Regions from separate parts of the Homo sapiens genome. Here all the other regions are linked to region 4. The links are contacts of gene promoters, found by promoter capture Hi-C in blood cells and fetal thymus (Javierre and others, 2016). All regions are on one chromosome and are shown on one strand. The core of a region is centred on a gene start or on the middle of the fragment in contact, and the rest is flanking DNA. Distances in the headings are between cores, read along the strand shown.

Evidence for each region. Contacts are between HindIII fragments. The CHiCAGO score rates a contact against its expected background, and 5 or more counts as called.
Region 1: a fragment that was not itself captured here is called in contact with the fragment with the promoter of ADAMTS12 in region 4 in 2 of 17 cell types (naive CD4 T cells and total CD8 T cells); the score reaches 5.5 in naive CD4 T cells.
Region 2: a fragment that was not itself captured here is called in contact with the fragment with the promoter of ADAMTS12 in region 4 in 1 of 17 cell types (endothelial precursors); the score reaches 5.3 in endothelial precursors.
Region 3: a fragment that was not itself captured here is called in contact with the fragment with the promoter of ADAMTS12 in region 4 in 1 of 17 cell types (naive CD8 T cells); the score reaches 5.3 in naive CD8 T cells.
Region 5: a fragment that was not itself captured here is called in contact with the fragment with the promoter of ADAMTS12 in region 4 in 4 of 17 cell types (naive CD8 T cells, activated CD4 T cells, total CD4 T cells and 1 more); the score reaches 8.3 in naive CD8 T cells.
Region 6: a fragment that was not itself captured here is called in contact with the fragment with the promoter of ADAMTS12 in region 4 in 3 of 17 cell types (total CD4 T cells, endothelial precursors and fetal thymus); the score reaches 5.9 in total CD4 T cells.
Region 7: a contact is called between a fragment that was not itself captured here and the fragment with the promoter of ADAMTS12 in region 4, in 1 of 17 cell types (endothelial precursors). The highest score is 5.3, in endothelial precursors.

Annotation. Positions count from the first base shown.
Region 1 is chr5:33,484,918-33,489,022 of GRCh38, reverse strand. No RefSeq gene overlaps it. Among named protein-coding and RNA genes, the nearest start is that of TARS1, 46 kb to the right of the region's middle. RefSeq lists enhancers at 1-135, 136-637. The HindIII fragment of the contact is 156 bases long and covers 2,020-2,175 here.
Region 2 is chr5:33,502,043-33,506,205 of GRCh38, reverse strand. It overlaps the pseudogene TOMM40P3. Among named protein-coding and RNA genes, the nearest start is that of TARS1, 63 kb to the right of the region's middle. The HindIII fragment of the contact is 5,698 bases long and covers 1-4,163 here.
Region 3 is chr5:33,464,570-33,468,858 of GRCh38, reverse strand. TARS1 (threonyl-tRNA synthetase 1) reads right to left here. Exons shown (of 19, transcript NM_152295.5): 18 at 1,874-1,988; 19 at 773-1,299. The coding sequence ends at 1,151. Among named protein-coding and RNA genes, the nearest start is that of TARS1, 26 kb to the right of the region's middle. The HindIII fragment of the contact is 2,178 bases long and covers 1,321-3,498 here.
Region 4 is chr5:33,890,021-33,893,872 of GRCh38, reverse strand. ADAMTS12 (ADAM metallopeptidase with thrombospondin type 1 motif 12) reads left to right here and starts at 1,883. Exons shown (of 24, transcript NM_030955.4): 1 at 1,883-2,143. The coding sequence starts at 2,017. RefSeq lists enhancers at 1,600-2,099, 2,100-2,601. The HindIII fragment of the contact is 2,849 bases long and covers 1,016-3,852 here.
Region 5 is chr5:33,430,773-33,434,808 of GRCh38, reverse strand. The region is part of intron 1 of TARS1-DT (TARS1 divergent transcript); the gene reads left to right. Among named protein-coding and RNA genes, the nearest start is that of TARS1-DT, 7.8 kb to the left of the region's middle. The HindIII fragment of the contact is 1,725 bases long and covers 1,451-3,175 here.
Region 6 is chr5:33,521,837-33,525,806 of GRCh38, reverse strand. It overlaps ADAMTS12 (ADAM metallopeptidase with thrombospondin type 1 motif 12), which reads left to right. Exons shown (of 24, transcript NM_030955.4): 24 at 1-2,272. It overlaps LOC105374717 (a long non-coding RNA gene), which reads left to right and starts at 3,247. Exons shown (of 3, transcript XR_925906.2): 1 at 3,247-3,380. The HindIII fragment of the contact is 3,340 bases long and covers 4-3,343 here.
Region 7 is chr5:33,621,439-33,625,194 of GRCh38, reverse strand. It overlaps ADAMTS12 (ADAM metallopeptidase with thrombospondin type 1 motif 12), which reads left to right. Exons shown (of 24, transcript NM_030955.4): 14 at 844-964. Among named protein-coding and RNA genes, the nearest start is that of TARS1, 180 kb to the right of the region's middle. The HindIII fragment of the contact is 192 bases long and covers 2,223-2,414 here.

The DNA of each region.
Region 1 (4,105 bases), core at 848-3,347, 410 kb after region 4:
CCCCATTCACCGTGCTGTGAGCAGCAGGAAGGAAAGAAGAGCTACAACCCTTCTGGGGGCCTAGACTTTGGGGCTCCCTGAGCCAAAACTGCAGCATGCTGTAACACCCACTTTGGGGCTTCAGGGTTGCTGGCATCTCCAAGATTTTTGGCCACCACCACATTCCCCTCATCCAGACGCCGGCACCCAAAGCAGAAGCAGGTTGCGGCATGACCCGTCCAGCTGCAGGCTGAGAACGGAACCCATGGTGAGTGCGGGATCCGGGCTGGAGCACAAGCCAAGCACAGCCCACTGAGTCGAGTAGGCGGGGTACCTCCAGCAGCAAGCCCAGAGCCCAGCAAGGCCCAGGCAAGGGTGTCGCTGGCTGTGGAGGTCCCTGGCTGGCGAAGCAGCACCAAAAATTCCTGCATCGATCTTATTTAATTCTTTCACCATATCTACTTGTGTAAGTACAGTGATCAAGGGAGTGCTAACAAGACAAACGTGGGCAGGTTATTTAATGATATTTTCCTCTAGTAAAAGGGGATTAATAATAGTTCTGGCCTCAGGATTGTTGTGAGAGCTCGAAAACTTCATACGCACAAAGTGCTTAAAACAGACCTGGGATGTACTAAGTATTCAATAAATGATCCCAGGAAGAGAATCTTATTTTTCCCAATTTACAAACGAAGTTCCTGAGGCACAAGGAGGGCAAATAATTTACCCAAGTAAAGATTAAAACTCACCCAGATTATAGGCTTTTATCTACAGTCTTCCCTCCTGCACTTCCCAAGCAGGGAGAAATTAATGGATAAATCGAAGCTAGGCATGGTGGCTTGCACCTGTAATTCCAGCTACTCAGGAGGCTGAGGTGGGAGACTCTTGAGTGCAAGAGTTTGAGGCCAGCCTGAGCAATATAGTGAGACCCCATCTATTAACCATAAAAGTGGGCAGATAAAGTGGAAGAAATGTTAGACAAAGACTTGATAGGTTTTCCAGAGTTACTGCATACAAAAAAAAAAAACGAATCTTTTTTTTTTTTTTTTTAATACAGGGTCTGGCTCTGTCGCCCAGACTGAAGTGCAATGTCCTGATCTGGGCTCACTACAACCTCTGCCTCCCAGGCTCAAGCAGTCCTCCCACCTCAGCCTCCTGAGTAGGTGATACCACAGACATGTGCCACCACACCCAGCCAATTTTTGTATTTTTGGTAGAAATGGGGATTTGCCATGTTGCCCAGGCTGGTCTCAAACTCCTGAGCTGAAGCAATTCACCTGCCTTGGCTTCCCAGTGTTGGGATTACAGGCATGAACCACCACACCAAGCCCAAATCACTTTTTTTATTTTTCTCAAAACATAAAGATTCTTGAGGAAGTCAGAGTAAGAAAACATTCTTATTTCCATCGACCTGAAATAACCAAAAGGATCAGAATTCAGTTTTAATGAGTTTATTTGAGTAAAACGCTGGAAGTTACCATCCAGGAAACACAGACTCCAGAGAAATGGGGTCAATGCTCTCAAGTTACGATCTTGCTTATATAGGCAGAACACAAAGAAATTTAGTGGGATTATAACATTCTCTAAATAAGGCTGGCTTATGAACTATACCAATTTAATGAGTTACAATGTGTTTTCTGTACAGCCTGTTTTCTTTTCTTTACAGCTTGTTTACATTTTCTTTCCAATTAAAAGAGTGTATTTGACATTCCATCCTAAACAGTGTGATAGGAAGTCTGTGTGACACAGTGAAGAGGAAAATTGGGGAATTAATAGGCCCAGTGCTCAGAAAACGGTTAGTAAATGACTGTTTGGGAATGTGAAGGGTGGAACTGCACAGAAACAAAGATTGTCTTATTATCCAGATAAGGTTCCCCAGGCAATCTCTAGGACTTCTCTAAGAAGAATAGATGAAAAGTCTGTCTGGGAGTAATGAGGACTCCTAGTCTCTTCTCTTCTCTGGGTGGTTGATCTTGCCTGGTTATTTGATGAGATTTTTAGGGAGGGGTCTTAAGACAACTGCATGTCATTTGGAAAGAAGCTTTCTTAGTCAGATAAGGAAATTCCAGAGAGAATCTCCACTTGAGAGGGGGACAAGGCAAGTTTAGAAAGGCTTTGATTATAAGGCAGCTCCTAAGGCTTCTTAGCATGTCAGAGTGCCAGTCTTTCAGGTATTGCTTTCTGAGCCCCAACAAAGCTTACGTGTCATTCAAGAGTAAGCAGCAATTTTTTACAGCCTAAACAACAACAAAATCTTTTTTAGGGAGAGGTATTTTATCACTAACATTTTCAGAATTGCCAGTGTATGGTTGGGTTTTATTATGGTTTTAAAATTCTTTATGGAAAATGTACCTAATTATTGCCTGCACCAAGAGCAGACCATTTCCACTGCCTCGGTCTTTCTTAACTGGTATATGGTCAAATACACAAAGGTCCTTCTTTTAGAATGATACATGTTGAAGTATTTAAGCATGAAGTTTCACAATGTCTACAACTTAATCTCCAATGGCTAAGACACACACACACACACACACACACACACACACACACACACAGCACATAGAAATTGATAGGGAAAATACAGACACTTCTCACCATATGATAGGAATGAGTCCCAATAAACCCACCCGAAATCAAAAATGCATTTAATGCACAGCCCTTTCAACATCATAGCTTACCCTAGCCTCCCCTAAACACTTATATTAGCCTATGGTCAGGCAAAATAACCTAACGCAAAGCCTATTTTAAAATAAAGTGTTATTCATTTATTAGAATCGCAGAGTACAAAAATAAATATAAAAATAATATTAAATAAAGTATTGCTGGGTTCAGTGGCTCTCATGCCTGTTATCCCAGCTACTCAGGAGGCTGAGGCAGTTCAAGGAGTTCAAGGCTGCCATGCACCAAGATTGTGCCACTGCACTCCAGCCTGGATGACAGAGCAGAGTTCTAATAGAACTTCAGGACCAGGCCTGATACTATGTCCTGCAGAAATGCCTCTGCAGGGAACAGAGGTGGAGAAATTGTAGGTTCAGTATTTTAAATGGACACCTGTAACCCAACTCCCAAACCTCATCCTCTTCAAAGTCTACATATAAGTAAGTTGAGAGTCTACCGTGAATTGAGATAGTCACATTACTTACTGCTCTCAGTAATGTCTGCCTCACTATGGAGCCAAGTTAGATTAGGAGAGTTTTACTAGAAGGAAATCGGAGAGCACACACACACACACCCCCGCAGACACACACAGCCCTTCACGCTCATCTTGGTTTTCTTTTACCTCTCTGCCTTTGGCAGGAAAAGCTTCAATAACACCTCCTGTTTTGTTGTTGTTGGTTTTTTTTTTTTTTTTTTTTTTTTTTTTTTTGAGACAGAGTCTCGTTCTGTCCTCAGGCTGGAGTGCAGCGGCATGATCTTGGCCTCACTGCAACCTCCATCTCCTGGGTTCAAACAATTCTCATGTCTCAGCCACCTGAGTAGCTGGGATTACAGGCACGCGCCACCACGCCCAGCTAATTTTTTTTTTGCATTTTTAGTAGAGACAGAGTTTTGCCATGTTGGCCAGGCTGGTCTCGAACTCCTGGCCTCAAGTGATCCACCCACCTTGGCCTCCCAAAGTGCTGGCAATTACAGGAGTGAGCCACTGGGCCCAGCCACACCTCCTGTTTTTAACCCACACTGCTTTTGATGAGACAATTCAGGAAATCCATACATTTACCTCTTTGTCTGCTTTATCATAAGGGGGATATTTCCCAAGTCCTGAAGTTTTTATTTAAGTCATGAGAATAAAATAGCATTGAAAATATTTTATTATCTTCCCATTAAACATGTTACTTAAAAGAAAAAACTTTCTAGAAATAAAGACTTATTAAGAGTCAAGTCGCCCTTCTAAATGACATATGCAGGAGGCTGGAGAGCTAGGTCAAGGATCTCTTTCAATTGCATTTGATCAATTACTTTCTTTGTTCTGCTAGCTGCAAGTAATTGTCCATACTAGCCATTTGGTTAGAATGTCTTTACAGAACAAATGGCACTCTTTCATATATTCTTTTCCTTATGTTCTATTTGAAGACTATAATCAATTCTAAGCAACAACGACCTTTGTAAATTCAGGCCTCCTCTCAACCCC
Region 2 (4,163 bases), core at 498-2,997, 390 kb after region 4:
AGATTGGGCAACAAAGTGAGATCCCCATCTCTACAAAAAATTAAGAAAATTAGCCAGGCATAGTGGCTTATGCCTGTGGTCCCAGCTGTTCTGGAGGCTGAGGTGGGAGGATTGCTTAAGCCTAGGAAATCAAGGCTGCAGTGAGCCGTGATCACACCACTGTACTCCAGCCTGGGTGACAGAGCAAGATCCTGTCTCAGAAAAATAAATATAAATAAATAAAATAATTAATTAATTAAAATAAATTAACTGGAGGAAGGTGAGTAATAAAATCTTGCAACTTTGTTCAGTTAAAACAAAGGGAAAGAATTTCCTGGCATCATGCCACAAAAATTTGATTCAGCATTTTAAAAATTTACCCCTACATCTCCTTTTGTATCTATCAACTATAAAGTGGGCTTTTTTAAAAAAAAGAATATTATATTTTCTAAAGTATTTTTCTAAAATAATTTGGTTCTCAAAAAATGCTACAGCCTATTTATGCCATATGTGCTTTTTCCCCCAACATCAGAATAGAGGCCGGCTGTATAGAGAGGTTCCTGGTACCGAGAAGAAAGAAAAAAATGAAAGGATTGTCTCAGCTATCAATGGGTTGAAAGAAGACTTCTGTTTTAATAAAGTTGAAATTACATCTTATAATGAGTTTTTTTTCTTTTTTACTGGTCAGTCACATGAAAGGTATCATGTTCTGTTTAGTATACTACATTTTCAAAACAATATTAATAAAGAAAACTTTTTTTTTTTTTTGAGACAGAGTCTCACTCTGTCACCCAGGCTGGAGTGCAGTGGCACAATCTCAGCTCACTGCAACCTCTGCCTTCTGGGTTCAAGCAATTATCATGCCTCAGCCTCCCAAGTAGCTGGGATTACAGGCAAGTACCACCACGCCCGGCTAATTTTTTGTGTTTTTAGTAGAGATGGGGGTCTCACCATGTTGGCCGGGCTGGTCTCGAACTCCTGACCTCAGGTGATGTGAGCACCTCAGCCTCCTAAAGTGCTGAGATTACAGGCATGAACCACCGTGCCCAGCCAAGAAAACTTTAGAGAAGCATTCACCAAAGTGAATACTGGCGAACATAACACTGCAAACCTTCCCCCCCAAAAACAAGATTCCCAGGGTCAAATAGGATTAGAATACCCTGAATTCTCAGTACTCTTCCTACAGTTTCACACTGCACTTACCATATTAAAGGCTCTGGGAAGTCCTAAAAATATGGAAACTTTTTTCATTTAGCTTAGCACGTTATTTTCCAATTTTTTTTTCTTTTTCTTTGTCATAGCAACAATTGTCATTCTGCTCAATCTGATTTTGAAGAACATCACTTTAGGAAACACTAATCCAGAAAAGGACCAGAATGCTGACAATGTCTGTGTTTTATTGGTCACACAGGCCAACCCTCATACAACGTGGGAGGAGACTAGTAAAGGGTATGAATACCAAGCGGGTGGGGATTGCAGGGAGTCCTCTTGGAGGCTGGCTACCACATCACATTTTGAATAATTCTGGCAAAAAAAATGATTATCATCAGCTCATACTAAAACTCTTCCTGCTTTATACTTTTGCTAGATTCCATTCCAAAACTTGAATTGCTATCTTTGGCAAGTAATACAAAATATCACATGCTACATAATAGGTTTGATAGTTTTCAGTATGGACGACAGAGCCAAGCAGGTAGAAAAATTCAGCAGAGGGCCATGCAAAGTGGCTCACACTTGTAATCCTAGCACTTTGGGAGGCCAAGGCGGGTGGATCACTTGAGATCAGGAGTTCAAGACCAGCCTGGCCAACATGGTGAAACCCCGTCTTTACTAAAAAGACAAAAATTAGCTGGGTCTCATGGCATGTGTCTGCAATCCCAGCTACTCGGGAGGCTGAGGCAGGAGAATTGCTTGAACCCGGGAGGCAGAGGTTGCAGTGAACCGAGATCGCGCCATTGCACTCCAGCCTGGGGGACAAGAGACAAACTCCATCTCAAAAAAAAAAAGAAGAAAAAGAAAAATTCAGCATATTCTTTGTATTTTGTGGCTTTGTTAGGCAAAGACTATATATCCACACAAAAGACTCTTTGTGGTAGCATGATCAAACACTGAAATAGATGGCCTGAACATCCTGATATTTTTTTGGAGTGACTGATCAAAGGGAAGATAATGGCTTTCACTGAGCCCAACTTGGCAGGAACTGTTGGCCTCTGGCCTTCTCATTCCTGTACTCTAGCCACGTTGTCTCCTTTTATAAACTGAGTCCCAGCATCATGCATGATCAGTCCTGCCCCATGCTGGGAGTGGAAGAGGAGCTCCGAAGACAGTGTGCCCAGGGTCAAGCTCTATGCTTGGTGCTGGTGTCCAGTTTCTTGTTTCCTGTTGGCCTGGGCCTTCAGCTCTGTCTTTCAACTGTCCTGGAATTCTGGTGCCAGGGTCTGACCTCACTGATGTGGACTTGCTGCCTTGACCCACAAAACCTCCATTCCATGCTGACTGTCAACCCTGTTCCACACTCTCTGAACTAACTGGCTTTCTTGGACGTGACCTGTGTCCTGCCTCATTTTTTTTGTTTGTTTTCTTTTTCCACATATATATATATTATTTTTCTGTAAAATCTCCCAGTTCTTCCATAACTTATAAACATGATTTATACCGAGGGGTAGATGGGAAAGTGGACAGGGGCAGGGCAGACTGACCGGGGATGGGGAAGCTCCTCTCGCTGCCCCCTTGGAGCAGGCCCAGGCCCTTTGGAGGATGGGGACTCCAGGACATTCCTCCCTGAGGTTGTCTGGCTGCCTCTACCACTGGTGCTCAGAATCCTGTGTGCCACTCAATTCCAGAATCCCTTCTGGGACTGACCCCAGGGCCACTAGACACGCTGCCCCTGGTACTCAGAATCCCGAAGCGCCAGCTGGTTCCATAATCCCCTTCTCAGCCGCTAGGGTGGTGGGGTCCCTCCTTTCTGCTGTCCGCCTGACCCCAGAGGAGGAAGGGAAGGGAGGGGGAGGGGGCCCCAGGTCTCCTCTCTGTGGCAGGAGGAGGGTGGAAATAGAATCTGAAGTAGGAAGGGCGTGGAAGGGTCAGGAGGGTTCAGCTGATGGTGAGGCCAAAGCCACTCCGTAACTTGTTCTTGCGGTGATTCAGGAAGGCCCCAAGGGCCAGTGTCAAAGGCAGGGGCGGGAGCTTCTTCTCCAGCGTGGCACCCACAATCCAGTTGCTGTCCACAGAGCCTTTGAAGAGGAGGTTGGCCTTGGGCAGGTCCAGCTGGTACCCAAAGGAGACATTGGTGTCCTGCATCCTTGTACTGGCCTCAAACTCCACATCCACCTGCAGTTGGTCACTGGGTTTGTGGTGTTATGTCCAACCCAACGTTACCGTTGCCAACCAGTTGTTCAATGTGTATTTCCCAGCTACAGACATGACAGTGCCCTCCTCCCCAGGCCGTCGGTGGTAGACCAGCTCACTGCCCAGGGCCAAGCAAGGCGTGATGCTCTTGAGGTAATGGGCTACGAGGATTCCTGAACCCATCAAGACGTCTGGGTTCCACAGGGTGACGTCCACTGTGAAGTCAGAGCCCCGGTACTCCCCATCCACCTGCCACTTCACAAACTTTGACTGCTGGGTCTGGATGGCCATCTTGGACCTGAGGCCGGGGCTCAGCTGGTGAATGACCTGAGCATTGAGGCTGCCACTGTTGTCCATGTCACCCACCAGTACAGGGAATGCCTCTGTGGGACTCAGCTGCTTTGTCCCCATATACTTGACACCAAAATGGTGGTTGGACTCCCTGATTGTGCTGAGGGTTACTGTGTGGTTCACCTGAAAATGCTTACACAACGCTTTGTTCTCTGTGAACTTGACACCTTCCATCTACAGCTCCTTGCACTTCCGGTGGCACTCCTCGAATGTGCAGGGGTTGGGCAGGCAGCGGCAGGCCCCATCCTCGGCACCCCCTGCAGCACTGGCGGTTGCAGCTCCGGGGGTCCGCTCCAAACCTCGACCCACACTGGTCCTGGCGCCCAGGCCGCCTCCCAGCGGCGGCAGCCTGAAGCCTGGATGCTAGGGCGGAGGTGGCGGCAGTCCCACGAGGGCCGGCACAGGTGGTGGCGGCGGCCCTGCAGGCAGGGAGCTGACTGCCAACACTTTCCCCATGGTCACCTGCGATGGGAGAGCTCAGAGGG
Region 3 (4,289 bases), core at 1,160-3,659, 430 kb after region 4:
GCTGGGCGTGGTGGCTCACACCTGTAATCCCAGCACTTTGGGAGACTGAGGCAGGTGGGTCTCTTTTATCCAGGAGTTTGATACCAGCCTGGGCAACATGATGAAACCATCTCTATAGAAAATACAAACATCAGCCAGGCATGGTGGCACATGTCTTTAGTCCCACCTACTTGGGAGGCTGAGGTTGCAGTGAGCCGAGATCATGGCACCACACTCCAGCCTGGGGGACAAAGGATCTTGTCTCAAAAAAAATTAAAAAAAAGATGTTACTTTTAAAATATCATTCTAACAAGGAGGAATTAGTATTTATCCACATAAGAAATTATTTACTTTGTGCTGTCCTTTCAATCACCATTTATTGGTAGAAGATTTTGAAAATGATCCCTTATGAGAAAATAGGGAATTTGTAAACCAAGTGATTCTATGGTCCAGAACAGTCTGCCATAAACAGATATTTCTCTGAAGATTCACGTTTTATCTTAAACATTTGTGCAAATCTACTCTGTAATAGATCCATGGTAGTTTTTGTTTGAAAAGGTGTCCATCCAACATTAAGTAAAAATGACACTCCCAAAAGTGTTTATCCTCTGAGAAGCCAGCACCCAGCTCACACCCAGTTTATGAATAGCATTATGATGCTGCAGACCTACCCCGTCTCCATCCACCCTGCATTATATTTGCTGTAAAACTGTAAAGATAAATACTGAACCACATTATCTGTCTCAGGCATGTATGTGTACATGTGAGGGACAGAGCAGTCTTGAAACTTATGTGAATAAATTTTTTTTTTATTTTTACACCATAATCCAATTCTAGTTATCTTAATTGAATTTGAAAACTTTTTCAATTGCATTAAATTTACAAAAAAGTTCTCCCACATTACACTAAAGCATTCCTCATGTTTCACTTCCAGTACTCAGATACTGAATGAGTAAAATCATTTTATTGGCTCTCTTTTAATTAACTCCTTCAAATGCACATTGTTTAAAAACTGACTAGGTCAAAAATAGTTACGCCTGCAGGTTGACCTATTCAGACTTTGCCAAACTCCTCCAAGTTCAATATAAATTGACGTTTTCAGAGTACAAAGTCAATTTTACGGAAACGCTGTTCCTCCTTTTCCATGGAGCCAATCTGGGTAATTTTTTCATTAAAATTCTTCTTCTGCCTGTTTGCTGCGGAACTCTTTGAGCTGCTGTAGCCGCTCGATAGTTTCAGAAATGGTGCGTTCCCCGTGGACCTTATTGTCTCTTGTGCGGATATTAACAGTGCCACTGATTTTCTCTTTTTCACCAACAACTAAAACAAACACACAAAGCTTTGTCAGACTTAATCTAAAGATATGGAAGAATTCACACTGAACATCTGAAAAGAAATGATCCTAGGACCCAAAACCTACCCCATAGCTTCTGATACATTAAAAGGTACAAGTGACCATGTGTTGATATTTAAAAGAAACTCTTTGCAATATCTAAAACTACTGTGCTTATGGAGTCAATCTAGACAACGTAACAACCAAATAATAAAACCCCAAACATCATGAATATCTTTTTTCAAGTAATCCCACATAAGGCATTATCTTGAGAAAGTAATCCAATAGATGTGTTTAAAAGCAATGCGTCTTCATTCTTGTTATAATAGCAAAATATTTTCTCACAGACATCCATGATTTAAGTGAAAAAAAAAAAAACCCAGTATGTATGCATGAGCCTATTTTTATAGTTATTATATATTAAAATATATAATAGAAAAAAAATCAGGACTGGAAGGAACTAAATAAATTCTTGATTACAATTCACTTAAACCTGTCTCAAGGTTTCAGTAGATTTTCCTGAGGTGTGGCAAATTTTCTTTGGTAAGTTTCCATTCTTACCTAAAATGAAGTTATACTGTGCTAACTGTGCATTTCGAATCTTTTTATTCAATGTACAGCCTGGATCCAGATCAATGTCTGCCATGAATTTGGCATCGTGGAATTGTTGTCGTACCTATTGTAACAGAGATACAGAATTTGTCAGATCTAAAATCAGAATTATATTTTGATCTCACATGATTTTACTGAACACAGGGATCAGGACTTCTTGGATGAACTTCCAGGAATTTAAAGCTGGCAAAACTGTCTTAGATAATATTATTCACTGCCATTATTCCCCCCTCAAAAAGGCCAGCTCCTCTTTATTACCTCAGGTCATGTGTATTAAGTAAACAATGTTTTCAGTATTCTTTTCCAAAAAAGCAATAAACTAGATTACAATTTATTAATTTTACATTAACTAGATTAAACTTCCCATTAACCTGATAACATATTAACATGACAAAAAGACCTAAATGAACAATTTTATTTCACTATCATTTCATATGAACCTCAGATTACAGATGTGAAAAATATCACACGATCAACACCTGAAAGAAATGATCTTCAACTGAATAAATCTTAACTTCTGAGTATCAGAAAGTTTTTTTTTTTAATCAGGTTATCAGAGGCATTAGTCCCTTAACTTTAAAATAGAATAATATTTAATAGTCTAAAAGTAATTTAGATTAGAACAAATTAACAATGAGTATAAAAAATGTTTCTGTTCAGCCTGCTATGAGAGTTGGGCATTTTACATTCAAATCACCCCACACGTGGCAGAAAACTGTTTCCTTACAGTGGCCATTAACCCAAAGGAAGAACAGGAAAGTTGGAGGACGCTGGTGTTCCTTCCTCATCTCTGCCATAGAGACAGTACCATTGGGCTTTCACGCAAAGCCATGTGAGCAGTGACGGCCTATCCTCTTTTTGTAGACGCAGAAGTTACACTGTCTACTAGCAGAATCACCATCACAATTCCACCCAGACCTCTTAGAAGGGTCAGAGTTTCTGGAAATCCTGGTCAGAAAGCAGAATGAATTTTTCCAGGAAAACATCTTAAGTACAGCTGAAGGTGAAATAGTAACTATCATACTCTACTTAAGTATCATGAGTAAAACCAGCAATCTCTGGTTGACCTGGGTGACGAAATATTTCTTTCAATTTTTGATTGAAAAAGATTCTAAATGATCTACAACACATTCATTTCTCAAATGCGAGTTATGTGTAAACCAAGGGTTATTTATGTATGTCAAATGTTTATTTCTATAAGGCATACTTTTTGAAACAATCTAAGTGACTTTGCCTATACTGTGCACAAGTCTTAGCATTTTAACTAGATTTTTAAGCCACAGTGATCACGAACCAATTAACCTGTTGACATTTTATTACACCCATTTCAGAAGGGTTGTTACAGAATTTTAGAATGCCAAGATAGGTCTACATCTTCAACTTATAACTACTTTAAAGAATAAGGCATCAGTTTCTTCATTTTTCTCAACATGGGTCCTGTGTGTGCACGTGAGATGGGCAATTCTGCAGTTGGGGAAGTGGCCTGATAATTACAGGGTGTTTAACATGTCTGCTCTATAGTTATTAGGTATCAGGAGTACTGCCCTGTCTTCTCTCCCCGCAAAAGAAAAGCTTACCACCACATAATCTGGAATGCCACCTACCCGCAAAGGGAAATGGGGAAGTCAGTGCTGTCTCCAGTTGAGAACTCAGTTAACCAATACAGAACTTCTTCCTACTGTGTGAGTTTTCACATACAAATAAGACAAAGTGCACTCAACCATGGAACATAACTTTGATTGTCATCATTTGTAACTAAAACTACTGAGTGCAGTAACAGGAATAGTCTGAATGGTTTATCTATTAGATGGTTTAGTGTTCACTTCATTTTTTTTATTTATTTATTTGTTTTTATTTATTTATTTTTTTGAGATGGAGTCTTGCTCTGTCACCCAGGCTGGAGTGCAGTGGCATGATCTTGGCTCACTGCAAGCTCCGCCTCCTGGGTTCATTCCATTCTCCTGCCTCAGCCTCCTGAGTAGCTGGGACTACAGGTGCCCGCCACTGCGCCCAGCTAATTTTTTGTATTTTTTAGTAGAGACGGGGTTTCACCATGGTCTTGATCTCCTGACCTCGTGATCCACCCGCCTCGGCCTCCCAAAGTGCTGGGATTACAGGCGTGAGCCACCACGCCTGGCCCACTTCAGTTTTTTTTTAAGAGATGGGGTCTCACTATGTTGCTCAGGCTGGAATGCAGTGGCTACTCACAAGCACAATCATCACACCCTGAACCCTCAAAGATCCTCCTGCCTCAAGCTCCTAAGTAGCTGGGACTACAGGTATGCATCTCCATGCTCAAGTTCATTTATTTCTTAAGGGTAATTAAGAACTGAGTGTGGTTTATTCTGATGGTCTGAAGACATGA
Region 4 (3,852 bases), core at 634-3,133:
GAAAAAAAGGTGGAAGAAGAAGAGTGACAGAAGAGTACAAGGAGGAGAGAGAAACAAGGAAAGGGTGAAGGGAAGCAAAGAAGAAGGGGAAGAGGAAGAAAAGAAAAGAAGCAAAAAGAATTCTAGCCCAAAGTTGTTCTTCAATGCCCTTGCAAATGCAGGTCATCATGCCTGTGTTATCTGAATGTCTTTTAACTCCAGTTGTGATCCTGCTTCCTAATGTTTACGTAACAGAAAAAAGGCTCAGAGTAGTTCTTTTACTTGCTTGTGACAACAAAACATGTTCTGTTACACGTAAAGGGGATTTAAGGTTGCAGATGGAATTAAGGTTGCTAATCAGCTGATTAGGAGAGTGTCCTGGTTAACCAGGATGAGTCTAATGTAATCGCAAGGGTCCTTATAAGTGGAAAAGGGAGGAAGAAGAGTGATGTGATGTGAGAAAGACTCAAAGGGCCATTGCTAGCTTTGATGGGGGAAGAGGGCCATGAGCTGAGGAATTCAGGCAGCCTCTAGAAGTTGGAAAAGGCAAGACAACAGATTCTCCCCTAGAGTCTTCAGAAATGAATGCAGCTGTGCTAACTCCTTGATTTTAGCCCAGTGAGACCAGTTTCAGATCAGAACTGTCACATAAGAAATTTGAGTTGTTTCAAGCCACTGAATTTATGGTAACTTGTAACACCAAAAATAGGAAACTAGCATATACCTCTCAAAGTCTTGGTGCCCATGTGTTCCACATCTGAGAGGACCACCTTGCTTTCAGACCACTGAGTTTGCCTTGGAGGCTCTGTCCCTATACAAGGTTGAGTAAGCTGGTATCCCAGAACTCTTGATTAACACATGTGGTTGGCTGGCAGCCAGGGAAAAGTCAATATTGGGGGCCGAATTCTTCCTGAATGGAGTAAGGAGGCCTGTTTCAGCTCAGAGGTGAAAAATCTTGGCTGGATTAGCCCAGTAAATTCTCAAGATGCCTGGCAAGCGTCCTGGATTGTGGCATTCTCTGACCGATGTAAAAGCTTGAGCCTCTGAATGAATGGACGCCCTCTCCAGGGTAGCCAGTTCAGGGAAACTGGGGAGATACCTTAACACCTTCCTGGGTTGACTTAATTCCTGGTTTCCTTTTGAGTGAATGGAGGTGGGCTAGGAAAGATGGGGTTCTAGAATCAGAAGAGCCGCACAGAGATCTGCAGACTCAGAGGGGCCCACAGGCATTTGCAGCAGTCACCTCATTGCACAGCTGAGGGGGCTTGTCTGAGGTCACATTAGCAGATTAGCGCAGCCCATTTCCCTTTGTGTGACTTGGCAAAGAGAAAAATCGCCTATTAGTTTTTCCAGTGGAAGAGAATCCCAGAGCGGTCCGAGTGGGTGAGGAGTCTTGATAGAGCGATGTTGGGAAAAGTTCAGGAACTTGGAGGAGAACAGCAGGGGAGGGGGCAGCGCTGAGCGCGGAAGGATGGAGGGAGTGGGGCCCCCCTCTGCCTCAACTCTGTTCTCCTCATTTTGAGCTTGTATTTAAGCACGCCGGGGGGCTGGCCTGGGGGCCTCTCACTCGCAGCTTCCTCCAGTGCCTCCCAGGGCGGCTCTCCCGGGTCTCCCCTATTTGGCCGGCTCGGCCAGCTGGGCCTGGCGTTCGGGGCGGGGCCGGAGGAGCGCGGGGGTGGGAGTCCGGGAGGAAGATGCACCGAGCGGGCGGGCTGCGAGGCCGCGGGGCATGCGGGAGGCGGAGGGGTGGGGACCGGGGTGGGCTGCGCCCTCCCGCTCTGGCCCATTCCACACCCCGCCGAAAGCGGACACTGTCAGCTGAATCACTCCCCTTTTAGGAGGAGGGAGGGGAAAAAGGTGTCTAGCTCCTTTCTGCTTAAAAAAGCACAGGGAGATCGCGGGCAGCTTTGCAGTCGCTGCCTTCTCGCGCCTGACCATGCACCCCTGCATCTTCCTGCTGGGCCACAGGCGAGCGCTTTATTTCTGGAGCTGAGGGCTAAAACTTTTTTGACTTTTCTTCTCCTCAACATCTGAATCATGCCATGTGCCCAGAGGAGCTGGCTTGCAAACCTTTCCGTGGTGGCTCAGCTCCTTAACTTTGGGGCGCTTTGCTATGGGAGACAGCCTCAGCCAGGCCCGGTTCGCTTCCCGGACAGGAGGCAAGGTTAGTGACTCTTCTTTATTTCTTTTTAAAACAGTGGTGGTAAGACTTGCGGGAATTTTGTTGCTCCCCTTTCCCTTCCCCCACCCGGCAGAACTGAACTCTGAAAAGCCATTTGGCTGCGTTGTAAGGAAATCTGGGCTGGGACCTCAGGAGCCTAGGCTTTCTCAGAATTCAGTGCTTAAGGTGATGAGTCCTTCATTCTTATAGAAAGGTGAGTACCTCACTCTTTTACAGGGATGACACTGCAGTCTTTGAAAGACCCAAGAGGTAGCTGGTAACTTTTTCTCTTTTGTCTCCTCTTTGAATGCTGTACTGTTTTGATCCCCTATTTTTCAGACTCTAAACATGGAAAATTTTTTTTTTAAGTGCTAACTGGCTACTGGCCGTCATTGCAGTGTTTCTAGTTAGTTTTAAACCTCTGGTCAGGAAAGGGGAAATGTGATTCTTCCCCCCTACTGAGCAGGCTTGGCTGTGTTTTGGTTTCCTGGAAAGATTTAGGGTTGTATTTTTGAAAGAATAGTCCTTTTGGGGGAACTATACCTCCATAAGGGCTCACTTTTTCCTGTCCTGTCTCACTGACCACAGCTGGCTGCTTCTCTTTATGAATTTCTGAACTCATGTTATTGTAGGAAGCATTGGAAGCGTTCTGGTGGACAATTTGTTGTTGTTGTTTTATTCTTTTAAGCCTAACAGTCAGCAGTTTATTGGACTTGGAAGGGTCAGAGGCACCTTCATGTTTGGTGGGGGGTTCATTGTACCTCTGGGGGTAAACAGTCCTAGCAGCAGCAATGGCCCGCGTGGCACTCTGTGTCAGCCCATCCGATCACTGGCAATAGCCTTCCAGGGTGCAGGTACCAGTGTTGCTGTCCCTGCTGTACAGATGAGGATGCTGCAGCTTGGAGAGCTTATGAGGCCAGCTAATGTAGAGCAGAGTTTTCAGCTCAGGTAGTCTGACTCTTAGAATCATGCAGCACTGTCCTGTAGCAATAATAGGGACACACACGCACACACACACGCATATGCACCCACACGCATGCACACGCACACAGAGCACTGGGTTAGCATGCACTAAGTCCTGTGTTTGCTGACTGTGCTGAAGCCTCGGGAAGTGTCCTCCATGACTTTCTGACATCCCTTTAATTCCCAAGGCCACTCGGGTGATAAACATCACCAGCCTGTCCTTGTTTAGGATTTCTAAGCAGGGTTTTCTGCTCATGTTGTAAAATTCAAATATTGCTGGACAACTCATCTGCTGTGGCTTCAAGACGTATCAGAAGCAAGTCCCTCTCTTTGCTTTACTTGGAAAGCTGGAGCCAGCAAACACTGGGGTTAGATGTCAGTCAGCCAGCACTCACTTGTGTAAACGGTCCAGATACAATCTCCCACCCCCAAGTTTAAAATAGCAGGGCTTGTTGTTCTTTGAAAAACAGTTCCTTTGTGAAAAGTCTCCCTTCTGGGGCAGCACAAACAAAGCCTGCAAGCACTTCCCAGGGCATTTGGAGATGATTTCGTTCAAAGACACACATTCTCCTGGGTTGGTTTTCAGCTCTGCTCCACATCTTCTTTGTAAGGGAATTCAGCTTGGTGTGAAGCAGACACCACGGGGCCATGGTTTTTGCTCTCTGGAAAGTGAGATATGATTATTTTCCCTAGTCACCTCTATCTAGAGCTATGTGCTGAGAGTATCCACTGTTCAAAAAACCTATAAA
Region 5 (4,036 bases), core at 1,064-3,563, 460 kb after region 4:
AGAACCCAGTCTAGCGAGGTCCTGACAAAGGCTAAGGGTAACTTGAATAGGTGCTAGAAGAACAGAGTTATACAATATTAGCTACATAATTTGCAGAACCCAATGCAAAATAAAAATGTAGGGCTCCTTGTTAATTTCAATCTATTTAATAGGCACAGTGGAGCAGCAACTAAGTGTAGAGCGCGCTTCTAAGTATTGAGTCCTGTGTGACTCCCCAGGTTGTGCATCCATGGAGCTGGTGCTAGTGCTATGATTGCTAAATTAGCCCTCATGACCAGAAAGAAGTATGGCCTGTAGAAGTTATGTTTTTTGTTACTTTTTTTTCCACTCCCCCAACTTTTCCTTATATATGTATCATATATAAAGAATACTAGGAGTGGCTAACTTTTTACTTCTCGTGAGGGAATATGATTGAATCAAGATCACTCCATGATGATACACATTCTGAAGGGACTTCATGTGTCCCTTGTGTTGGAGGCACACACTTTTCATGTGGATGAAAAGCTATAGAGGATGTTGAAGGGGAAAAGGTGTGGCCTGTACCAATGGACTGCTGGGCCATTGGCCTCCAGTTGCTTCCAGCCAGTGAGACCCTCAGCAGGAGTTGGGAGGGAAGAAAACAAAATCAGGACATGTATACCCCTGGCTCTTCCCAGGAGGAGGTTGCCTTGTGCTGCTGATGTTTCACAACCAAAGGTCACTGCTGATCTCATAGCAATAACTACAGAACACTTCCCTTCTAGGTTCCAGCAAATGCTGGCTACCCTCACCCTGCCTGGCCTACATGTGGTTACAGATTTCCCACAATTACTATTTGTAGGATCCTGACTCCCTATACTTCTCATCTGTTTTAAATAAACCCTCTTTAAATTACTCTAACCCGAGTGTGCCCTCTGTTCTCTGTTGGAGCCCCGTGTGATATAATCATGTTCCTCAGCTATAAAATGGTGATAGAAGTAATAAACCTGATTCCAGAACTTGTTGGGAGGATAAAATGAAAGTACAAGTATACAAAGTACTTTGCAAATTCTAAAGGGCTATAAAAGTTAATTATGTTTGGGGAAATGAATGCTCTAGCCGGTTACCCTCTCTGGTTTACTCTAGATTTATTTGGAACCATTATGGATAATATTCCTCAATTTGTTTTCATTTTTGTCATATCTCTTCTTTGCTGAGAGCTTTTGCTATGATTTAACTGTGTCCCCTAAAGTTCATGTGTTGAAAACTGAATCCCCAATACAACTGTTGGGGTGTGGAGCCTAGTAAGAGGTGATTATGTCGTGACAGCTCTGCCATCATGATTGGAGTGATGTCATTATCTTGGGAGTGGGTTAGTTATTGTGAGAGTGGGCATGCTATAAAAGTGAGTTTGGCCCCCTCTTGCTCTTTTGCTCTCTTGAGCTCTCTTGCCCTTCTGCTTTCCACCATAGGATGATGCAGCAAGAAAGCTTTCCCTGGGTATAGGCCCCTTGACCTTGGATTTGCCAGCCTCCAGAATTTAAGAAATAAGTTCATTCTCTTTGTAAATCTCCTAGCTGTGGTATTCTGTTATAGCAATACAAAATGGACTAAGACAGATTTAAAATAGCTTTGAGAGGCCTAGCGTATGAGGAATACATTCTGGATAGCTTTTAGGAGGTTCTGAACCTCATCTCCAAAGGGCATGCTTTCCTCCAAAGTAAGTTGTAAATGTGTAGAATTGTGCATTTGCCTTTGGCGTCCCTCCCTTCTCATTTCTTTGCAGAGTATCTGTGCCATTCCCTGAAGGTATCTGAGCACCTCACACTTTTCTTCATCCTTCCTACCTCTATTAAAAACAGTTTCCAGGAAAGGCTGTGAGTTCATTTTTACTAAATAAATGGCTGCTGGACTTTGATATGTGGCCTTACCCGGATATCAAAAGCATTGTCTGAAGCAGGATTTTTCACAAACTCAGCACTATTGACATTTTGGGGCTAAATAATTATTTGTTGAGGGAAGCCACTGTTCTGTGTACTATAGGTGCTTAGCAGGATCCTTGACCTCTACCCACTGAATATCAATAGCACTCTTCTCCCAGTTGTCATGACCAAAACTGCTTTCAGACATTGCCAAATGTCCTATGGGGGCAAAATTACTTACAGTTAGGAATACTGGTCTAAAAAAATGAAAATTCTTCTGTACAATCTTTTGGGCCTCATCAAATAAAAAAAAAATGCATATAAGGGCAGTAACTGGAAGGTCTTTCTAAAAATACGGAACTTGAGTGCTTGCTGGTAAAGAATCACTTGGTTCTCTGAGTTGTATAGTCTGATAGTTTTTCCTCCAAACAAATCTGCACATATCCATGTTGTTTCTGAGTACTTCCCACCCAATGATTCAATTATGGTGATGTGATTATGAATAAAAACATTTTTTCAAGTCCTGTTTCTTATAGCAATATATGAGTAATTTGTGTATACATAAAAAATATTCTGAATATTAGCCAAAGTTCTTCAGAGAAACAAAATCATCTATCTACTATCTATCTATCTGCCATCTATTTATCTACCTACCTACCTACCTATCTGAAGAGAGAGAAAGAGGGGAGGAGAGAGAGAGAGAGACAGACACAGAGACAGAGAAAGAGACAGAGAGAGATTTCTTAGAAGGAATTGGCTCACAAGATTATAGAGGCTAAGAAGTCCCAAGTTCTGCAATTGGAAAGCTGGAGACCCAGGAGAGCCCATGGTAAAAGTTCCAGTCCAAAAGCCAGCAGGCTCAAGATCCAAGAAGTGCCCATTTTTCAGTCAAGTTTGAAGGCACAATGTTCCAGCTCAAGCAATCAGGCAGGAGGAGTTCCCTATTACTCAGCCTTTTTGTTCTACCCAGGTCTTTAATTGTTGGATGAGGCCCACCTGCATTAAGGAAGGCACTCTTTACTCAGTCCACCCATTCAAATGTTCATCTCATCCAGAAAATCTCACAGATACAAGCAGAATAATGCTTAACCAAATGTCTGGGCATCCCTGGTCCAGTCAAGTTGACATGTAAATTAATCATCATATCTTCCCATTGACCTGTTGGACTATTTTAAATTATCTCTCAAGAACTGAGTTTGGGAATGTTGATACCAATATTTCAATCTGAGACACTATGCTAGTTCAAGGATATACATAGCCAGCTGAATTTTTCAGTGAGAAGCAGCTTGGAAGCTTAATAAAATTGGAGTCCTCTGCTGGTACAACCTACTTGGGAGCCAACAAGACCATGGTGCCACATTCATGCTTTCCCCTAGCCATCATAAGCCCCTATTTCTAGCAATCAGATAGAAGAAAACAGAAATCCAATTCATAAGATACAATAGTTACAGTAAATGCTAAACAGAGGTAGAAGAGAGGCTCCAAAATACAATGACAGTAAACTAGATGATTACTTATTTTTCTGTTACAGCTATGTAGGGCCCCAAGTTCCTTTTATCTTTTTGCTCTAGTGCAGTGGTTGGTAAACTTTTTCTGAAAACACTAGATAGCAAATATTTAAGGCTTGCAGCCCAACACGGTCTTTGTTGCAATTACTTAAGTTCTCTGTCATTGTGGTGCAGAGGCAGCTATATATACTTTGTAAACAAATGGACATAGCTGTGTTCCAATAAAACTTTATTTACAAAACCAAGTGGCTGCTCTATGGGTGATAGCTTGTTAACCCTTTCTCTAGAGGGTTCTCATCTGCATGGTTGTACTTGGGTTGCTGGCATTTCTGCATTTCAATTTGCAAAAAAAAGAGTGGAATTGCTTATTCCAAGTGTTTTAAGGCCCAGACCCAGAAGTGGCACATAGTTACTTCTACTCATATCTCACTGGTCCAAACTGAGTTGCATAGCTTCTAGGGAGGCTGAGGAATCTGGTCTCTAGCTAAAGAGTCATGTACCTCACTTAATTTCTGTTATTGAGGGGAAGAAAATATTTTGGTGGAAAATTAGTAACTACTGCCACATGACACCACCACTTGGGGGTAATTCTGCAAATTACATGATTCTCTCTCTCTATCTTTTTTTTAAATGTAATTTTATTTTAAG
Region 6 (3,970 bases), core at 424-2,923, 370 kb after region 4:
GCTTCAAATGAAAGAAGATATCAGAACCAATTCTTGACAGGGAGAAAGGCAAGGATGTGGCCTTCATGTGATGGGCAGCATATTTTCTGACTCATGCACAGATACACTTAATACTCCTCATGGAACACAATATCCCACGTCTCCCTTTACCTATCCGTTCAGCAGAATGGTGCTATTAAAAAAATGGTGCTAATATCTAGATGGTGGCAGAATTAATGTAAACATAGATAGGCATACAAATGGGTAAGTGTATGTGAAACTCTCCATATACATCTTCTGTTAAACATGTAACGGTGTTGCTGACCAATGCCAGTTTTATTGCTTGGGTACCTTGAATTTAAGATTTAATATTATGTGCTTTTTATTTTTTTCCAAGCCATTAACGTGTATTACTCTCATGAATTCCTGTGAAAAATAAAACAGTGGGATTGGGATGAAATTCAAGATAGACCAGAAACAGGAGGAAAGTACAAATGTTTACCTAAAGCCAGAGAATTTATTTCTAGATGATAATTACATTATTGTATTCTCTGCCTTTAAACATAAACATTGCTGGCCGATAGCAATCTCTGGTGAATAATGGTTTTCGAGGAGAGGAGACACTTAAATTGTTAGTGACATGAGTGGAGGAGAATCTGATATTTACTAATGAGGCAGTTTGCAAAGACTGTCCCTGAAGTGTAGTGTAGTCTTTCAGGGGGATTCATTTAGTAAGCTAGATTGATTTAACCTGGTACTGTACTAGCATAGGGTCAAATACGTGTCATCAGAGACCTGGGTATGACCAGGCTTACAAAACTCAGGAACAAACTCAGATTCCTACTGACCTCAACCAACTAAACTAGGCCAAATTTCTCCGTGTACAAAATGGACCACGTTATTTACAATCCACGTGGTGGAGAAGATGGTAGACATGTGGAGAGAGTTTGGCCAGGTGCTCCATTCTAGGTCTTTTTCCAGTTTCTCAAAGGCAGAACATTGGCTCCTAATTATTTGCCATGGATATTTGCTTCCTGTTCTGGAGCTATGTTGTAAGACAGCTGTGTGATGTCCATCATTCTTGACTCCAGAATGAAGACAGGGCTTGCTGTTTTCTGTCCTGTTGGTATCATCTGTTGCCTTGGCGATCACTCAGTGATGAGTCGTCAGTATTTTGACATGTCCCAGTGCTTGCTGTACAAGAGGGGACTCAGATCAACAGGAAGACTCTGAAGACAGGAACCTGCATGGTATCTTACATCTTTGATACTTGGGTGCTGATATGAAGCAGAGTTGTTGATTTACTTTATCTAGGCCCTTCTTTCTTCTCACCTGGATCAAGCAACTGAGAAGTGTATCAGGAGACACTGGATACATATCTCTATGAAATAGAGAGGGCCATCGCAGGGCCTGGTACTTAACTACATTAACGTTCTAAAACCCAGTTTGGTTTACGTTGTCTTTCACAGTAGTATATTTAGCTCTTCTCTGGAAAGTTGTGGGTTAATATAATTCTTAAACATGAAAATGTAATTAAACACACCACGAGAGAACAATATTCCAGGAGACTTAATAGTGATTACTTTCTTCAATCAGGAAATCGTTTCAGTGCCTCCTTTGTAGGAATGCTTTGTTTTGTGATGGGTTTTCTTAAAGAAGAGCACACCTCCGTCCAATCTCCTGAGACAGCCACGTCTCCGCTGACATCCCACTGTGATGCTTTCAGATAGTCAGTGAATGTTTCTGATAACCTTCATCCAGTATCTGAAACACAATGTGAGAGATTATATTGTTTTAGATAATAACATCCCATTTAGTTGACTAAAATCTTCCAAACTCTGAAAGCTGCACACTGCTACTCCAGAGAGTGCAGGTCTTAGCTCTTCTCCTTTCTGACTTCAAGATGAATCTTTGGGACGATGTTTCTGGTGCTTGGTCCACAGTGATTCACTTTTGAAGGAGAGGCCACATGACATGAACTGCCTGGTGTTACAACCTAGCTAACATATTTGATGCTACTCCTGTTGTCTGTACTGCTTATTCAAGTAGTATTCTAAGTTATGTTACTAAAAAACATGGTGGGTAAAGCACAATCCTACCCATCATTGTCCTCCAAAATAATTGTATGACATACACGGCCCAGCCCATTGCCCTCCCTGCATCTCTGTGCTGCTTTGCCATTTCCCCTTCTACCCAGCCTCCTCAAGGGGTACCTTGGTGGATATTTCAGTACTTAAAACCAGACTGTAATCATAACCTCCCTCTGTGTGGCATCAATAAATAGCCAAACTCATTGATGTTTCTGTGTGATTCTTTTACCCCTGCTGTGAGACTCCCACCACCCACCAGTGTTACTATGGATTTTAGCAACCTGGGAAAGGATGCTGTCAATTTCTTCCTCCCACACTCATTCCAGATTCCCTCCTACCCTACCCCTAGACCAGTACATCATCAGATGAGTCACATCCCAGGTAAGCCGGTCTCTTCTCATGAATGTGCAACAACTGCCACACTCCACCATATGATAATCTGAAGTGATGCCTAAAATTCCCCAAAACACTGAATTCAACATATTCATGCTGCTCACAGCAGAACCTACTCCTTCATCTATCCAAAGTGTAGGCCTAATGCTTAAGAGAAAATGACCCATCTCTAGGGGAATTTGCTTTGGGAATTCAATCCTTATTCAAAGATGGGTGTACAGCTCAGTAAATGCAACTAGCAAAAGCAGAATTTGTACATATAGTGATAGAGTCTACTCACATGGAATAAACAAAACCATAGAGGTAGGGAAGAGCCAGGCCTCTCCAGGTGATCCCTAGGATGTTTGAGGGCATGAATAGGAATAGTAGGAAATGTAGTTTTGGTCAAGAAGGCATCACAGAGAGCCATGGATACCTCCCTGATTATACCTTACAAATTATTCTATCTGTGACTATGAGATCTTTCTAATACTGCAAAGCCCAGCTCAAATGCTACTTCCCCTGGGACACCTACCCTGACGCTGCCAGAAAGACAGGGTCCATTTTCCGTTATACTCTGCTCCCACTATACTGGGTACATTTTCCACTAGAAAAGTAGCTCTTAATTGAGAGTGATTTTTGTTCCGCAGGGGATCTTTGACAATGTCTGGAGACATTTTTGATTTTCACAACTGGGCAGTGGGGGAGGGAGGGAGTGCTACTGGCATCTAGTGAACAGAGGCCCAGAATGTTGCTGAACATTCTGTGGGACGACATTCCCTCAACAACAAAGAATTGTCTGGCTCATAATGTCAATAGTTCCAAAGTTGAAAAACCCTGCACTAAAACAATTATCACCTTGTAGTGAGTAGCAGGGGATCTTGGTTGAGTAAAACCAAGCTTTCACTAAAATTCAGACTTCTCGAAAGGACTGATGAGGTAGGTCAGAAAACCTCAAAAGGACTAAAAAATACATCAGGGTTCAAAGCACACCAGCTTGATTAAAGAATCTTGATGTTGAAGGGGATACAGGATAATGAGCACAGCTCAAAAGAGTCTTAAACCAGCCCCTGGGGACAAAGGTGTTTCGATCCTAGAACTGAGGCAATAAATCAAAAGCAAGCAAAATGGAAAACTGGTGTGTTAGTTTGGATTAATCATCCTCCTCTAATTGAGATTTCTAATCAAACTGAGAATACACATAATCAGCCAGATCAAAATATCGGCTTCAGTAGTGGTGAAGCTGGCTTGGAGAGCATGTCTTGGGTGCAAATGGAAAAAGGGTTTTCCTACCCTTCACATCTGCATCCCCCCATGGCAAGTAGCTGGAGATCTGCAGGCCTCCCTCCAGTGGTTCTCTGAACTCCAGGCTTCAAGCTCAAGAGAGATGGGAATGCAGTAGAAAGAAACAGAGAGAAATGGACCACTCAACCTATTAACCTCAGTTAATAGGAGTCTCATGGCCATCAAACTTTCACCAACAGAAGCACCCTCTCCTGCCCTGGGAGGAGCATGTAAAAGGGTTATCA
Region 7 (3,756 bases), core at 1,069-3,568, 270 kb after region 4:
AGTGGGTATTCATTCTCTGTTTAGCTGGTAGAGGGTGTATTTAAAGACTCAAAATAAGCCTGGTGTGGTACCTGTAGTCCCAGCTACTCAGAAGGCTGAGGTGGGAGGCCAAGAGTTCAAGGCTGTTGACTGTGAATAGCTACTGCACTCTGGCCTGAGCAAAATAGCAAAATCCCATCTCTCTCTAAAAAGAGATTCAAACGATTCTTCCTTTGAGTAGATTTGAGGTGGCTTTCAAGTTAGAAAGAAAATGATCTTTAAAGATCAAAAAGGAAATGAAACTATCTGGACACAATTGTTCCCAAACAAGAAAGAAACTTATGACTAAAGGAATATGGTATAGCTTTCCCTTCTGGTCATGGAAGAAAGCAAGCCACAGAAAAGTCCAGGTGAAGGTCAGATACGGCTCATGACTTTCAATCTAAGTGTCATGATTCTTTGGTATCCACTCCCACAGAACACCCCAAGCTTCGTGGCTCTCCTTTTCCAGGATGAGAACACATCTGAAAGAGACTTGCTGCTCTACCAGCTTCAACTCCAAGATGTTTTCATAGTTAGATTTTTGGAACATTTGCATAGATTTTGTTCAGTTCTGCCTCTGACTCGGGAAATTAGAGACCTCACTCAATGTGTGCCTCCCTCCTCTCTGAGCAAGTAGTGCCTTTACCATTGGTGGATGCTTGGATATTCCTCTTGCTGCCACCAGGAACAAACATTTGTCCTTGTACCTGGTACCTCCTGCCCAGTCTTATGAAGCACCAAAGGGGAAAGAAGAAGTCACAGATCCAGGCAAGAGTGGCATCCCCTGCCTGGGCATTCATCCTCCACCTCTCTTCCCCACAGATGGTTGGCTGTGACTATGAGATCGATTCCAATGCCACCGAGGATCGCTGCGGTGTGTGCCTGGGAGATGGCTCTTCCTGCCAGACTGTGAGAAAGATGTTTAAGCAGAAGGAAGGATCTGGTAATAAACAAATAAATAATCGAAGTGGCAGGGGACCAAAGGTGGGGGGCAAGATAAATGGTTGATTGGTTCCTAGTTTTTGTTTTTATTTCTTTAAACAGTCTGTGATTTTCAAAGTATTCAAAATGGAATATAGCCTTTACCACAAAGGAGGAAGGGTTCTTCGGCAGTTGTAGGAAACGGGTTGATTGCTGACAAAATACAGGATGCATCACAGTGAGATAGAGATCTGAAATGGCCCTGTGGTTGTGCACAGGAACAGGTATAAGAGTGTGATCTCTGGGAGAGGATCCCCTTTGGGAACAAGCATCACAAGAGGATCCAGCATTAAAGCCAATGGCATTGGAACAGACCAAGAACTAGGGGAGAGAAGAGATCAGAAGCTGGCCGAGAAGGCTGCAGACACAAGGACAGATTCTGTAGTGAGGACAGAAGCCAGCAATGGGTTTACAGGCAAAAGAATTGGGGTGCACCTTCAATTCAAAGTCAAAAGAGAAGCAAGGCAGGGTTGCATCAAATCTCGTTTATTCCCAATTGCTCCCTGGGAGGGGGTCCCACCCACTGGTCCCTTATGAATTTCCAGACAGCTCCTCCACCTAGCATCCCCTTCTTACCCACGCTTTACTATTCTTTTCCCATAGTCACCTTTTGCAGAGTTTCTTCTCTGTGCAGCTTTGGGCTATGGATAGTCCTCAGGGCATGAAGAGTTCACCTTCAAGGGTGGACCCCAAGGAAGAGTCAGTTCCCAAGGAAGGCAGCTAAGAAAGGGTGAACCATTATATGGGAACCATGGCAGATCTTGCACCTCTGAGTTTCCCCGACCTGAGGGGTGAAGGAATTGAGATAATATACACCACTTTCCACCAGTCATGGGTTGAGGTTACTCTAGGGAGATCGGACTGTTAATTCTCTGGATTCCATAGAGATGCTGGGAGTAGGGAATCCATCATGCACTATTGCAGTAGGGCCTGAGGGGAGAGGGGCAGTGTCTGCTACACAGGGTTGATGCCCAGGACAGGAAGTGATAGCCACTTTGAGAGATGGTAAAGCCCTGTTTTCCTGGATCCTGGAAAAATAATATCTCTCTTCTAAACATGCTTCCTACCCAGGATGAAGTTACTGAGTAGGATCCTGAGAGGATCAAGTATGTTCTTCAGTTAATTACATGACCTATTGTTCCCTAGTAATCATAACAGCAAACAGTCTAAATTTAATTTCCATCCCTATTTTTCATCTTTGACTATTGGATTACTAAGCTTAAGTTGTGAGATGTAATGCTTGTCCTGCCCATGAGAATTACCACTGGAAGACTGTATTTCATGTCTTTGATTGATAGCTTTATTATGGATGAAAAATACTCTCTGAATTACTTATTTGGAATGTGAATGATAACCGGTATGTCTTAGGCTTATGATTAAGCACCCTATGATAGCCAATGTTTTTACAAGCTTTACAAAGGTGTTTTGTAAATATTTTTCATTATTTATAGTGGCTTTACTTACTTATAAAAAGTTACACTTAAAATCGTATTTCTGCATTTAACCTGTTTTTTCGTTTTTGTTTCTGTTTTTGTTTTTTTGAGACGGAGTCTCGCCCTGTCGCCAGGGTGGAGTGCAGTGCTGCAATCTCAGCTCACTGCAACCTCTGCTGCTGGGTTCAAGCAATTCTTCTGCCTCAGCCTCCCGAGTAGCTGGGACTACAGGTGCACGCCAGCACACCCAGATAATTTTTGTATTTTTAGTAGAGACGGAGTTTCACCATATTGGCCAGGATGGTCTTGATCTCTTGACCTCGTGATCCACCCACCTCAGCTTCCCAAAGTGCTGGGATTACAGGCATGAGCCACTGGGACCAGCTAACCTGTTTTATTTAATTTTCTTTATGAGTTCCTATCTTGGCCTCTGAGGTGCTGTTCTTCTAATATTATGATAACTCAATTGAAAACCAGAGTTGTTGTCCCCAGGTCTCTTCCACTTAACCTTGTAATCCCTTAGGAAATCCAACTCTAATTCTGGGTTCTTTCCTCTGCCCTGGTCTCTTGGGAATGAGAAAGAGGGATTATAAATGTCTTCTGCTCCCCTGTTACCCCTACCCCTTCCTGCCTCCAAGATCTCAATACCTCTAGCCACATGCCCACCACTGAGCATTTGACATCTCCCTGTGCCTTTGTGTTTTCCATTCTCTTTCTCCCATGTCCCCTTCCTACAATTCCTTTCCACCAGCTTCTAACAAGAGGGTCATGGTTGCTCGCAGTGTGTTACAAGATTCCAATTATCTCACAACCCTCTTTTGAGATAACTGAGACTAAGAGTCTTAATCTAAGGCAAGGCATTTTAACTTCTCAAAACATATACCAGGTACTGTTATTTTTATATATTTCTTCCTCACTCTGTGGTTTGTGAGCCTGTCAAACACTGGTTTGTATCTGAACCAGACACCTATGTGTCACTGCTCTCAAGCCTGGGATCAGACATGGACCAGCATTTCCCAGGAGCCTCCACACATCAATCATGAGATATTGGCCTGCAGTGAGCATTGTCTCAAATGGACAGCATAAATCTTTAAAAAGACAAGCTGACCACTGTAGATAAGTTGCCCAGGGTTAATGGTATAACCTCTTTATGAGCACATTTTTATTAGAAATGTCAAAGACTGGAGACCAAATATGCCAGTGAGTAAAGTCCGTTTTTGTGGACCACAAAAACAGTTGGATAAGATGTGTGTTAGCATCAATAATGTATGATGTCTCTTATCAGAATCTCAGAAATGAGGGCCTATCTTTTGCCGCATCC